3 separate regions of the Homo sapiens genome follow, and regions 1 and 2 are each linked to region 3. Evidence: promoter capture Hi-C in human tissues and cell types (Jung and others, 2019). All regions are on one chromosome and are shown on one strand. The core of a region is centred on a gene start or on the middle of the fragment in contact, and the rest is flanking DNA. Distances in the headings are between cores, read along the strand shown. Region 1 overlaps IQCJ-SCHIP1 (IQCJ-SCHIP1 readthrough). Region 2 holds the start of IQCJ-SCHIP1-AS1 (IQCJ-SCHIP1 readthrough antisense RNA 1). Region 3 holds the start of IL12A (interleukin 12A).

Evidence for each region. The method cuts DNA at HindIII sites, captures the fragments that hold promoters and counts their contacts. A contact is called where the count stands out against the background at its distance.
Region 1: a contact is called between a fragment that was not itself captured here and the fragment with the promoter of IL12A in region 3, in 1 of the 25 tissues and cell types used here (hippocampus).
Region 2: a contact is called between a fragment that was not itself captured here and the fragment with the promoter of IL12A in region 3, in 1 of the 25 tissues and cell types used here (heart right ventricle).

What each region holds. Positions count from the first base shown.
Region 1 is chr3:159,849,536-159,854,229 of GRCh38, reverse strand. All of the region lies in intron 4 of IQCJ-SCHIP1 (IQCJ-SCHIP1 readthrough), which reads right to left. The region is part of intron 2 of SCHIP1 (schwannomin interacting protein 1); the gene reads right to left. All of the region lies in intron 2 of LOC124906299 (a long non-coding RNA gene), which reads left to right. Among named protein-coding and RNA genes, the nearest start is that of IQCJ-SCHIP1-AS1, 83 kb to the right of the region's middle. RefSeq lists a silencer at 1,056-1,350. The HindIII fragment of the contact is 4,469 bases long and covers 933-4,694 here.
Region 2 is chr3:159,765,145-159,769,949 of GRCh38, reverse strand. All of the region lies in intron 4 of IQCJ-SCHIP1 (IQCJ-SCHIP1 readthrough), which reads right to left. The region is part of intron 2 of SCHIP1 (schwannomin interacting protein 1); the gene reads right to left. IQCJ-SCHIP1-AS1 (IQCJ-SCHIP1 readthrough antisense RNA 1) reads left to right here and starts at 1,338. Exons shown (of 3, transcript NR_121669.1): 1 at 1,338-1,376; 2 at 1,451-1,646; 3 at 4,207-4,568. The HindIII fragment of the contact is 9,433 bases long and covers 1-4,805 here.
Region 3 is chr3:159,985,550-159,990,087 of GRCh38, reverse strand. IL12A (interleukin 12A) reads right to left here and starts at 1,253. Exons shown (of 7, transcript NM_001397992.1): 1 at 914-1,253. The coding sequence starts at 929. It overlaps IL12A-AS1 (IL12A antisense RNA 1), which reads left to right. Exons shown (of 10, transcript NR_108088.1): 9 at 795-991. RefSeq lists enhancers at 993-1,042, 542-1,042, 1,043-1,543, 2,395-3,594 and silencers at 1,163-1,212, 1,283-1,482. The HindIII fragment of the contact is 7,471 bases long and covers 1-4,538 here.

The sequences.
Region 1 (4,694 bases), core at 1,918-4,417, 140 kb after region 3:
TATCATTAACTGATATTTGCCTCTGAGGTAAAGAGGTCTTCATTTCCAGGCCCATGATGGAAGGGATTTTATTCTTCATGTTATGCCATGTTGTGAACTACACTTGACTTGTGGCAAATAATGAAGAGGGAAGGACATAGTGTGTGTTTTAGGCTTCTGTGGACAGATAAGCATATACTTGTAGTTTAATTTCATGACCTCACCCATATAACTAAAGCTATTTTTACTCGGGCCTGTGATTACCAGAACATTACCATATAAAACATTCTCAAAATATATTTACTGACTTTCAAAAAAAAGGGCAGGGAAAAGATGAACAGATACTGTATCAACTTTTAAAAACCCCAAACATGTTAACTAAAACTTGATATTTTTCATTGCCAATAAAATCAAACAAAAAATTGGAAAAATAGGTTAAACATTCTAGTAATTTTTTTTGCCAGTGAACTGTAAATATATGTCAATAATTTTTAAAAAATTCCTTCACATAAAAAGCCTGCCTAGCAGTTAAATGCATAATAGAATTTTTTCAACTTCAGAATAACAACATGTGTGTTTTAGTTGCTGCTGTAACATATTAATGAACATAAGCTGGGAAAAGCAGAAAGAACTTTCCTAGCTTAATGCATTTGATTCTGTGCATTTAGTTTTTCCTGACTATATTATGGCAATAGCCACTGAGTGTGGAATTTGGCCACTCCTCAAGGGTGATCTTTCTCCAGTTAGAAAAATGGTTCAATTGTTTATAAACAAAAGAGCTCTCCCCCCTTACCTTTTTATAATTCCCCTCCATATCCAATGAGGATTCTTGACTGATGATGTCATCCATTCCATCACTGTCCAAATTCATCCTTTAACTCTTTAGAATTTCACTTAAGAAATAACCTCCCATGAATTCTGATAGGCTGATGTGCCAATTGCCCAGTTCCCTGGTTACTGCTCATACTGACATGGAGAGCTGGCTAAGAGGCTGTGCCCGGCCGTGTGTGTTCTTGCCCCACTCTGTCCCACAGACACTGCCCCGCCCAGCCTCCCTGGCCTTTCCTTGCTCTGGCACCGGGCAGCTGCTGTTTTCTGAGGCTCACTCTGCCCCTGACACTTGGCTTGCTGACTCCGGCCTTCCCACCATCTGCTGTCACCTTCCCCTGAATGATCCCGCCCCAATTCCTCTCCACAGCACCTTTCCTGTTCCCAAGAAAGGAAAAGAGAGGCACTCAGCTTCAGCCAGCTGATTCAACTCCGCGTTCAGGGCCGAGTGTGGACTGGAGCTCTGTGAGGAAACTAGCAATCTGAACCAGGGGTAGATTGTGTGGGATAAAAATAGATGTGAAAACTTCCAGCCCAGCCGACTTCACTACTGAGTTAAAAGCTGGGTATCCCATGACAAAACGGAAACAGTATAATTTAAAGGCTGACCTGTAACACAGATGTTTGCTTTTTTCCCCCTTTAACTGATCATTTCTTAAAATCTCATGTAAAAGTCTCATCTGGTAGGAGCTCCAGGACGAGACTGAAATTCACTTCCAACACAGAGAAGGACCCTTCTGCCCTGGGAGCAGTGCTTTGTTCTATTAATATAGGCAACAGAAAAAGATCCATCAACTTTTCTTTAAAATTCAAGCAGTGGCGGGCTTTTTCACAAAAGCAAACGTTCTTTTCTGCTGCTCTCTTTACACTTTTCCCATGGCTTCTGGTTTTGTTTACAGGCTTTACTAAAGAGAGGGAAAAGGCCCACAGCTGGAGGATGTTTTGGTGCAAGAAGCAGACAAGCAGAAGTGCACATACAAACACACACTCATCAGAATCAGCTTACTACTGTCATAAACTAAAAATTATGCCCAGTGTTTATTTCCAAAAAATAAAGCTACTGTTTGCAGGAGAAATAGGTCAGAAAAGAATTCAAAGGGCAAGCCTTCATTTAGCAACACCATCTTACACTCTGACAAGCTTAGATAAAAAGCAGCAAGTATACTAGTCAATAAATTTTCCAATATAGATTCTTGTGCAACCACAATACTGTTAAGAACAGAGTTCTAAAAGCAAAAAGGCTATTCAAGATAACCTTTTGGCATCTGAACTGCTGCTGACATGCTCACCTTCAGTGTCTACTTATTTCTCTCCACATTTTTTAAAAATTCAATTTGTAGAAGACTTGTGGCATAAATGTGTTTCAAAGTAGTTTATAATAGCCCTACTTCTATAAAGCAAATACTTCCCTCTGTAGCCCCCAAACCAAAGTGAAATCTTCCCTTTACTCCATTCTCATTGCCCCACCTCAGTTCCAAAAAGAATTAATTGCATGTTTGTCAGATGTTACAATAACAAGTTGTCTCTCATGAACCACATTTGCATTTGGGCAGGGTTTTCCCTGGAAGAGATCTCCCTTGTCTTACTCTCCTTCAAACCCCAGGACCCTCACTCCAGATGGGGGTCCCACTGTCTGCATGCAGGCAGCCCAGAATGCTTCCCGGGGCTGTGGCAATGCTGGCCACAGACTGCTGCTCCCAGTGCCCCGTGCAGGTGCTCAAAATACAGGAGAATTCACCAAGGCTAAGACTTTGGGGTTAAAGTATGCTCTAGTTTGAAGGACCCTGTGTATGTTAAATCCTGCCAAAGGAGGTTAGTTAAAATGAAGGAAGCATGCATCTTCTTACCTGGCATATATTAACAGCTACCCTTTATTGAGGGAGGGGTTGCTATGTGCCAGGCACTTTATATGTTCCTCCTACATATGTCTTTAATCCTCTCAATAATCTTTTGGAGTAGATATTACTATCAATTGTGTTTTACAGCAAAATGAAAGAGCTCAGTGAGGTTAAGGAAGATGAATATGGGCTCTCTGCCTCTGTGGCCCACACTCTAACCATCCCACACTGGCTGCCTCTGTAAGAAATAATTGTGCTGAATAAAATAATCAAGTATAGCTTTTATTTATTTATTTAGACAGGTTCTTGCTCTGTTGCCCAGGCTGGAGTGCAATGGCATGATCATGGCTCACTGCCACCTTGACCTCCAGGCTCAAGTGATCCTCCCACCTCAGCTTTCTGAATAGCTGGGACTAGATAGTATAGGGACTATAGGAGTGCACCACTATGCCTGGATAATTTAAAAAATTTTTTGTAGGGATGGGATCTCACTATGTTGCCCAGGCTGGTCTTGAGCTCCTGGGCTCAGGTGATCTTCCTATCTTGGCCTCCAAAAGTACTGAGATTATAGATGTGAAGCACCACGCCCATCCAAGCATAGCTTTTAAAGATTAGAGTTCAACACAGACAAATCTAGTAGAGCTCCAGATATGTGGTTTGGATCTGTGTCCCCACCAAAATCTCATGTTCGATTGTAATCACCAATGTTGGAGGTAGGGCCTGGTGTGAGGTGACTGGACCATGGGGGTGGTTTCTAATGGTTTAGCACCATCCCCCTAATGCTGCTCTGGTGATAAGAGTTCTCATGAGATCTGGTTGTTTAAAAGCGTGTAGCACCTCCCCACTCTTTCCCTTCCTCCTGCTCTGGCCACGTGAAGATGTGCCTGCTTCCCCTTTGCCTTCTGTCGTAATTGTAAGTTTCCTGAGGCCTCCCCCACCATGCTTCCTGTACTGCCAGCAGAACCATGAGCCAATTAAACCTCTTTTATTTATAAATTACCCAGTCTCACGTATTTCCTTTTTTTTTTTTTTTTTTTTTTTTGAGATGGAATCTCCAGCCTGGAGTGCAGTGGCACAATCTTGGCTCACTGCAACATCTGCCTCCCAGGTTCAAGTGATTCTTCGATTTCAGCCTCTCAAGTAGCTGAGATTACAGGTGCCCGCCACCACGCCCAGCTAATTTTCGTATTTTTAGTAGAAACGGGGCTTCACCATGTTGGCTAGGATGGTCTCGAACTCCTGACCTCAGGTGATCCACCCGCCTTGGCCTCCCAAAATGCTGGGATTACAGGTGTAAGCCACCATGCCTGGCCAGGTATTTCTATATAGCAGTGTAACAATGGACTAATACAGCTCCCTGTATAACAATATCAAGAGCTGAATCAACATTTTCCAGATCATACATCTGGAACACCCAGCACGTATTGTCGCATATCTCTTCTGATGAAGCCTCAAGAAATGAAATGGAAGCTACTTCACTGATGTCAGAACCTAGTACGCTATATGATGAATTTTCCTTTCCAGTTTACCTGGTGTCTTTTAGCACCACTGTTGCTTCTTTCCAACAGCCACTGTGGTTGCAAGCTCTTTTCTAAGGGGACAGGGATTTGTCATCTTGTTTACCCCATAGCATGTAGAACACTGCCTTGCACACGATAAGCGCACAATGAAGAGCTGTTGACTAAGTACGTGAACAGAGGAAATATGAACGTGCTGCTTAAAATGTTTCCTCTAAATGCTGTCCACAGTAGGAAACATTAATAGTGCTTTTCAACTGAAATCTTCTGTGGAACTCACATATGTTCAAAAGGAAAAAAGGGTCTGCTTTGATTGAATGAGGAGGGCTACCACACCCCACCTGGATGCTCTATTCTCCTATTATCCCAGCCCCAGCACAGCCTCTCAGGAAAGCTCTGTGGAAAGGAAGCCCTAGGACCCTGCAGACCCCACTCACTCTGCAGACTACAGCTTGAAAAGCTCTAAAGACCATACAAATGGCTCTTTCACAGTAGCAGCAAAGCAGTATTCTGCTCCTGGCTCCATGACTGT
Region 2 (4,805 bases), core at 2,195-4,694, 220 kb after region 3:
GGAGTGCAAGGATACTTTTGGGGATGCTAAATATGTTCATTATCTTGATGTTCATGATGGTTTCACAGGTGTGTCAAAACACATACATATGCCATACATATGTCAAAACTCATCAAATTGTACATTTTAACTATGTACAGTTGATGTATGTCACTTATACCTTAATAAAGCTATTTTTATTTTATTTTATTTAATTTTTGAGACGAAGCTTCACTCTTGTCACCCAGGCTGGAGTGCAATGGTGTGATCTTGGCTCACTGCAACCTCCGCCTCCTGGGTTTAAGCGATTCTCCTGCCTCAGCCTCCCGAGTAGCTGGGATTACAGGCGCCCGCCACCATGCCCGGCTAATTTTTGTATTTTTAGTAGAGATGGGGTTTCACCACGTTGGCCAGGCTGGTCTCGAACTCCTGACCTCAGGTGATCCGCCTGCCTTGGCCTCCCAAAGTGCTGGGATTACAGGCCTGAGCCACCATGCCTGGCCAATAAAGCTATTTTTAAAGAAAAGCGTCAAAATAGGCTGAGTCTCCAGAGACAGGGAACAGGCTAGACATGGAGGAACACGTCCCATGAAGGACAGGAAGCCTCAGGGACAAACACAGAGAAAAAGATGTGTAATTATATTCCATTTAGGAGGAAGAGTACACTGAGGCAGTGCCCCCCCTCCCACCCCACTTGGCAACAGGTCCACAGAGCCTTTTGAACAGGAGCAAGAGGGCTACAGTGATGCACTAAGGTCCTGGAGAAGCAGAAGAGAGAAAGCCGACTGTTTGTGGCCCGCTCTCATAAGAGGGAAAACTGTCCAGTCCTGTGCACCAGAGTTAGAGTAGGCAAGAAGATAAGAATTTAAGAGAAACATGAACTTCTGCAAGCAGGACTCCTAATCTGACATCAAAGGCACCAACCCCAGAACCTTTCTTTACTCCATCTATGGCCCTTGAATTTATTAAGAGTGTTCACGCACAAGACGGAATACAAGCCCAGGGCAGGACTGTGAGAAGCACACTGACACCAGATGAGCAGGGGCTGCCCATGGAAGGGGCACTTCTGGGAGTAGTTCTGGTTTTTGGGTAGAGCCCCTCACCCTCTCTGCATGTTTCAAGCATTTATTTGTGCCAGGCACAATGCGAACTACTGGGGATATGGCTGTCCCAGGTGATGACATCACAGTGGAGGGCTGGACCAGGTGCTGGAGGTCTGTCTTGAGCCCCCAGCTCTGAGATGGAGCAAGGATCCAGTCACTAGAGTGTTTCCATCAGGACTCCCCAGGCCCTTCCATGCTGTGACACCAAAGATAGTTCCTGACAGCATCCAAGCTCATCATCCTCCACAGATACCAAGAGAGAGATTAGTTTTCTAAACCCATCGCAAAGTGAAGGTCAGTGCTAGGTTTTAAATCCCACCTAAACATTGTGCATTTTTAAATTTGCCTCTCAATCTTATCTGAATTAGGGATAGCTGATTGTCATCCCATTTTTGAGACCTCAGTCATCCTTCTGCGTGCATCACCACAACTAAGAGGAAGGAAAGAGCACTGGATGTGGAGTGAGGAGACATGGATTCTGTCACTACCCTGCTCTGCAGAACCCAATAGTATGTCATTGAAACAAAACAATACAAAACCCTGTCTACAAAAGAAGACTCATAAGTAAGGGGGTTTTGATGATTTCCCAGTTTACTTATGTCCTTAATTCTAAGGAAGTGCAATAAGAGACTTGTCAATAGGAAACCCTTTAAGTTTCAGGGAGGTGGGAGCTCCTTCCTTTCCTTTTATTTCAAATTATTTTAAGCATTAAAAAAGGGGGCGGGGAACTAGTCTGGTGTCACAAGAAAGAACAAAACCCTGTTCATAAGTTTCTCACTGGGTCTGAGGCAAATCACTTAACCTCTCTGGGCTTCAATTTTCTCAACTGTAAAATGGGAGTTGGATTAGGTATGGGTTGTGTTGTTGTCATAAACATTCATTCATTCATTCATTCAATATTTGAGAACCTACTCCATCCCAGGCATGTTCCAGGCAATAGGTTATAGAGTTAAAAAACAGGCAAGAACTCCCGCCTACATTTCAGAGGGACCAAAAATAGAGGACTAAATAAGATAATGTCAGATAGTGACAAGCACTAAGAAAACAATACACCAGGAGTGCTGGAGTTGGGGTGCAGTGCTGTTACTTTACTTTAGGAAGGGTGGTGGGGGACAGCTTCTCTGAGCTGGTGAGAGTTGAACTGAGTCTGGAATGATGAGAAGGAACCAGACACTTGCTTCCAAGCAGAGGTTACAGAAGGGCAAAAGCCCTGAAGTAGGAATAGGCTTACTTGGTGAAGAGAAGCTATCCCCTTTTCATTGTATACCCCATTCCTAGTGGTGTGTATTAATGCCACTTAAATATATTCATACAAGACATTTTAAAGAGGAGTAAAATATCATTGGATTTGAACAGTTCCTTCAAGGCAGGCCTTCTCTTCCACACGGCTCCTTTGTTCTTCTCCGGTTTCTGTCCTCATGGTCATAAATTCCCTTACGTACTCCAGGCAGCACTAAACAGGATTTAAATCAGTGCTTTTCAATCTTTTATAACAGCGACCCATAGTGAGAAGTAAACTTTATGTTGCAACCCACCATACATATAAAACTAAAGTTTTAAAAATTACCAACTTTACTATGACTCCCTGCAATACACTATCATACATTCTATTTTATTTCATTTTTTTAAATGCTAAGGTGATTTCATGGGAAACTTACTGTTTGAAAAACAGTATTCTAAACCAACACTGACTAGTAATTTTGTTCAAACACAAACCAAAACATGAAAAAATCCACCATTAACCTCAAATGCTACCTCCTTCTCCCTTTTTTCTGTATACATCCTTGCTTTGACACAATGAAATCTAAATTTCTCTGTGTAACTTGTAGAGGAAATGACCAGAAGGGGCATTTCCAGGAAAGCTGGAAGTGAAGGAAAGAAACCCAAATATGCAAATATGCAAACTGTTCACTAGGTGAGGATACACCATTGGTTTCAAAGACTGCCCAAGAAGGAAAGATTCATAGTCTTCACAATAACCAGAAGATGCGTTGGGGGTGGGGGTATGAGGTGGTGCTAGGTAAGCCATCAAATTTTAAGTTCCTGGAGGGAAGGCAGTCTGTATCCCTACCCTTCCCTCACCAGAATTTCAGCCCCATGTGGACTGATGTGTAACTACAGCACTCAGAACCATCCCTGGCACACAGCACATACATGGGTGCTCAAAAACAATTTGTTCCACAACTTTTGAATAATGGAGCTCATTGTCACCATCAAACCCTAACTTTGCATGTATACCCAAGTACTAAATTTTCCTGGAATGTATAAATGTCACGCAATAGCAAACTAACCTCCTGCTTATTTCCCACTCATTGTTCAAGCCCAGGTATTAATGAGGTATTTTTCTCAAGCACAAAGTGGGAAAAGGATATTTTCTATTGCAAGGTATAAGAGATAGTATTGACTGTAATGGAAAGATTCCACGTCTGTTAATGGCCATGGTAAACTCCTAAACAGCTGGAATTAAAATGAGTATGCTAATTTATTAAGTAGTTTCCCAAGGGAAACTAACCAGCAGGCTCTGTCAGCCAAGGGCGCTCTCTGATAGAACCATGGCAATTTCTCTGTGAAACACAGTTACCATCCTCACCCCTGAAGTCAGAAGTGCATGCACCCAATTTTCAGGAGCCCCGGGGTCCTGGTGTCGCAAAAATTACACCCGCAAGGCAAGCATTTTCCCACCTGCCACACAGCTGCCACACACAGAAAGCAGCTCCTTTCAACTACGCCCTTCAGCCCTAATTAGGGTCATCATTAATGATTTCAAATTACAACTGTTGCTTTATCTCAAAGCAGTGCTAAACAGGGGAGCTACCTTCATGATGGTTTTCTTTTAAGTCATTTATCTGCTCTTCTCTCAGGGGCAAAAAAGATGTTGAGACAAGTGTGAACCTGCCAGTGCTTCTTATTATAGATGCAGCCCTCCTCTCCTCCCTCCCTCTTTTCCACTCCAGCACCCCTCCCTGTCTGGCTTTCCTGAATTGAGGCAGTAGCCTCCGGGAAGAAACTGTAAGTGGCTCCGTTATCAAAACAAGGAGGGATTCACAGCAGAGGGAGTGAGTCAGGCGACCGAGGGAAGAACCCCTCCCTTATCCTGACAGGTCCATTTACCCCGTTCCCCCAGGTCAACAATAACTCGGGTTTCATAAAGGAAGAAAGTCTTAGAGGAGGAAAATCAACCCATTCAAATACAGGAGCATCTGCTTAACACAAGACGGAACGAACCCCGCTGCCAGACCGGTGGTGTGGGCAGGCGAATGTGTGCGTGTGCATAGGAACAAGCCTATATATGGATGAGACATTAGTGGCAACGAGAGGAGAGCCACCACGATTGACAAAGCCACAACTATTACGATTTGAAATATCCCCCGCAGGCACTGACTTTTGGTGCCAGAATCTCCCCGGATTTATTTTCAGGCAAGTGACTCACAACCTGGTCTCCATAAGTAATTCCATTAAAATGAGTCGCCGGTTCCACTAACCCGACTTTCCGCTGCCCTCTGGCTGCTCCTCCTTCCTCTCCGCCCATCCTGCAAACCCAGACAGCTCACAGACCGAGCAACCTTATCCCCAGGGGAGCAGACGGCAGGCTCTCTGGCCTGGCCCCCACCCTCGAGGAAGAATGAATGGGGCCGCGGGCGGGCGGGAGCGCAGGGAGGGGGCGTGCGGGCTGTGCGCGGGGTGTGTACGCGTGTGTGCGCGCGTGGGCACGCACCCCGGCCA
Region 3 (4,538 bases), core at 4-2,503:
TCACCCATCCATTCATGCTTGGCACCCACCTCCCTCAACCCATTTCCAACACTTTTCCTTCAACACCTGAGAGATGACTCGAGTTATTACAAAGCGCCACTCTATTCTAGGGCTAGAAGCCAGCTCCCTGTGAGGGTCTAGAGATGAGCTTGGACAAGGGTGTTGAACCCAACACTCACCCAGAGAAAGCCTACATGTTTTTGATCAGGGAAACCCAGACCAGGTGGTGAAGTGGCTGAGTCAGACTTGGGACCCAGTGTTTTAAAAACAGTGGAGTGAGAAAGCCTGACTTTTTTTGTTTTTTTAAGACGGAGTCTCACTCTGTGGCCCAGACTGGAGTGCAGTGGCACGATTTTGGCTCACTGCAACCTCCACCTCCGAGTTCAAGCAATTTTCCCTGCCTTAGACTCCCGAGTAGATGGGATTACAGGCACCCACCACCACACTCGGCTAATTTGTGTATTTGTTAGTAGAGACGGGGTTTCACCATGTTGGTCAGGCTGGTCTTGAACTCCTGACCTCAGGAGATCTGTCCGCCTTGGCCTCCCAAAGTGCTGGGATTACAGGCGTGAGCCATTGCACCCGGCCAAGCCTGACTTTAGAACTGGCTAGGATCTGCCTTCTGTTTGTAGCTGAGGGACCCTAGGCAGGAAAGCAGGAAATCTCCCACGCTGGGCCTCAGTTTCTCCTCTACGAAGTGGGCATAATGATAGCTCATCAGGCTGTTTCGAGATGAAAAGAGACATGCCCTATTTAGCACACGGTGAGACCCCTATTCTTATTCCTCTTTGCAGGAGACGGCTGCTGCTGTTCCAGTCTCTCCTTAGGCAGACTTGAGTTTCTACCCACTCTTCCCAAGCAGCCGCCCCTCCGCACCCGAGCGAGCCAAAGACCTGGCGGGCTGAGTACTCACTGCGCGCTGGACACATGCTGAGCCGGCACTGCAGGGACACAGGGCGAGCCGCTGGATGCAGACCTGTGGCCGCGGCAGGTGAGGGCGGTGGCTGGGAGGCTGACCCAGGGGGCCACATTTTTATAATTGTCCCGAGGCGCGGCAGGACTTTCCCGGGACTCTGGTCTCTTGCTTTCTGTCTCCTTCTGTGTCTCTCTCTACATCAGCTTCTCGGTGACACGTGCGGTGCGGCCGGCCCGCGGGGCTTGCGGCGCTTTCGGATTAACTCCCGGGGTGCCCGGCCGCAGCCGTTCCGGGACGGCCCCGCCGCCTCCAGCTCGGCCCAAAATGAAAGCGAAATGTTCGCAGTTACTGCGCGGGGTCCACAGGCGGGCGGGACACCCCGCCCACCACCCTGGGTCCCCGGCCTTAGCCGGACGCCCCGTGTCTAAGCTACCCCGCCCCGCAGCTGTGCAGCGCCCCCTGCCGACGTAGAGAGAGGAGTGCCTCCCACTTTGCATGTCCTGCGTAGGGATGGGCCCTAACCACGACCTCCAGCCTAGTACTGGAAGGGGTAGGCAAATCATTCACTCATCATCGTTCCTTTAGATGGCTCACTAGATGCCAGGCCGACGTTGCACCAGGTGCAGGACACCCAGGGAGAACAGGACCCTTGGGGCATTGCCACACTAAATCAGACTCAAGGCGTTTTGTTCACAGGTCTTTTCTGAAACCTGAAAAGGGATGAGAGCTGGCTGACTCTGCAATTATTACTCTTGTAGAGAATCCAGTTTAACGATAGGATGAATACACAGAGTCCTGGGAGGAAAGACCTAGAGAAAGAGCCCACGCTCAGCCGGAGCAACGGGGTCCAGGAGTCAGCAAAGGCTCCCGGGAGCAGGCAGGGGCCCCAACCTGAGTGTTAAAAACAAGCAGGCATTAGACCGCTTCCAGCGGGAGGGCACGCAGGGTCTAGCCAGGGGAAACAGGGATCAGAAGCGCAGTCATGAAGGGTTGAGGGAGGTGGGGGTCTAGGTGTCCTTGCAGGGTGTGAGGCTGGAGGGCTGGATGGGGCCATGCCATGAGGGCAGGGGATGCCATACTAAGGAGTGTACTTTCTGTGCTGAGAGTAGTGGGGAGTCTTCCTGGGTTTTAGGCGGGAGATGTGGCAGAATTTGCATGATGGGGGGATCCCTTCAGCCACAGCATGAAGGATGGATCCAGGGGTCAGGAGTAGAGCAGAGGGAAGAGTTGACAAGGTGTGGCCAAGTCCTTATTCAGTATGGAGAACACAGGGTGGGCAGGAGGGACTCTCAGAGGGCTTGTGGGCCAAGGCTTGGTAGCTCCTCAGGTGAGCGGGAGAGGAAGGCCCTGAGAATGGGGAATGGAGATTGTTCTAGCTTTACAGGGATTACTGTATAAGAGGACTGAGTTTGGAGGAGATGGTGAGAAGTTCCATTTTGGATGTGCTGGGTTTGAGGTTCCTGTGGGACTTTTTAGTTCAGTTGTTTTTCCCACAGGCATTAGTCACCCTAGGCGTGGGTAGTGGGGAGGATGTGTTTGATCTCTGACTTGGAGCTTCCAAAGGGCCTGACTACACCCAGGCCCTAGGACCTAATAACTGGAGCTGCCTTCTGGGTGGCTCATCTGCTCGAAGCTGATGAAGCACGGCTGTAGGGAGTTTTAGGTGTGTGTAAAATAAGAGAAATGGTTGATCTCTAAGGCCCCTTCTAATGCTGCTGTCTGAGAATTCCCCCACGGGATACAGAGTAATCCATTGTCAGAAACAATTGCGTTTAGCAGTTTGTCTAGAGCAAATGACAGGTGCAGAGCTGTGTTGTGGCCACAAGGGTTTAGTGTGGAGTTAAATGTACTTAAAGTCAGGATGAAGACAAGTGTATCACAACTGAGCTGTTTCTCCCCTGGAAGGGCCATCTCCTATACAAAAGTAATTTCTGTTGCTTAGATGAGCACAGGGCCACTGTTAAAAATGGATTATTGGCTACCAGACACAGTTTCTAATTTACATTTTTGTGAAATAGTTTCCTGAAGTGCTCCATGTCCTCTAGCTAAGATGAAATGAAAACCTTCTTCTAGGAATACATGATTTTTCTATAAGTGACAGTCTTAGCTCACAATCACTACTTCACAGTGTGTAGCATTGTCGTGGAGGTCTCGGCCAATGCTATAAGGAAAGAAAAAGAAATGAGAGCTTTAAACATTGGAAAAGAAAAGGTAAAACTGTCACTTTTTACAGTTGATATACAAAAAGAAAAAAAATTAATAGACTATTAGAACTAAGAAGAGAATTTAACAACATCATGCAATACACATATCAACTTAAAAAAAATCAGCCGATTTTCTTTGTATCTGCAACAATCCATCAGAAAATGTAATAAAAACAAGATGACATGCATAGAAGCAGCCAAACTATAAAGTAACTGACTGTAGATACAGAGGCAGTATAATGGCTAAGAGTATGGACTAAACTATGTTAATCCAGGTTCTGCTACTTACTTGCTGTGTGTTCTTAGGTGAGTTATTTATCTCTCTGGGCTCAGTTTCCTCATCTGTTAAATGATGATAATAAAAGTACCTACAGTATAGAGTTATTATGATTATTACATGAGCTTGGATAACTACAGAATAGTGTTTGGAGAAAAATTTTAAAGTTCAGTCAAGAATATAGTGTGATTTAATTAAATAATTCTATACCCTTGGGTGGAAGGTTTCTCTATATAGAAAGCTTAAGCCTCTTTTCGTTAATTCACATGCTCAATGTAATTCCAATACAAGCTACAAATAAATTTTCTCAGAAACTTAATAATAAGCCTACTCTAAAATACAGATGTAATAAAATCTATGACTAAGTTAAAAAAATTTTTTTTGAGACATGGTTTTACTGTATCACCCAGGCTGGAGTGTAGTGGTGGCACAGTCACAGCTCACTGCAGCCTTGACCTCCTGGGCTAAAGTGATCCTCCCACTTCAGCCTCCTGAGTAGCTTGGACCACAGGCAACACCATCATGTCCAGCTAATTTTTATTTTTGTATTTTGTAGAGACGGAGTCTAGTTTTGTTGCCTAGGCTGGTCTCAAACTCCTGGGCTCAAGTGATCCACCCACCTTGGCCTCCCAAAGTGCTGGGATTACAGGCGTGAGCTGCTGTTCCTGGCCTTAAGTAAAAATGCTAAGGGAATAATGAAAAGGGGGACTAACCCTATCACATATGGACATAATTTAAAGCCATAGAAATTAAAGTAGTGATCTTTGCAACAGATCAGGCATATGGACCATTGAAACAGAGTAGAGAAATTATAGATAGATTTGTATATTTGGGTATTAAGTATAAGATAATACAGATGATTCCCTGATCAATGAGGAAAACATGCAATATTTAGTAGAAAATACTCAATGGGCTGGGCATAATGGCTCACACCTGTAATCCCAGCACTTTGGGAGGTCAAGGCAGGAGAATTGCTTGAGGTCAGTAGTTCAAGGCCAGTCTGAGCAAAAACTCCCTACAAAAAATTTTTTTAAAAAGAGAAAATGTTCAGCGTATGATGAAAAATAAAACTGGACTCCAATCTAAAACAACAGAGGTGAATCCATTTGGAAGTGAATTAAAGACCAAATGTGAAAAGTAA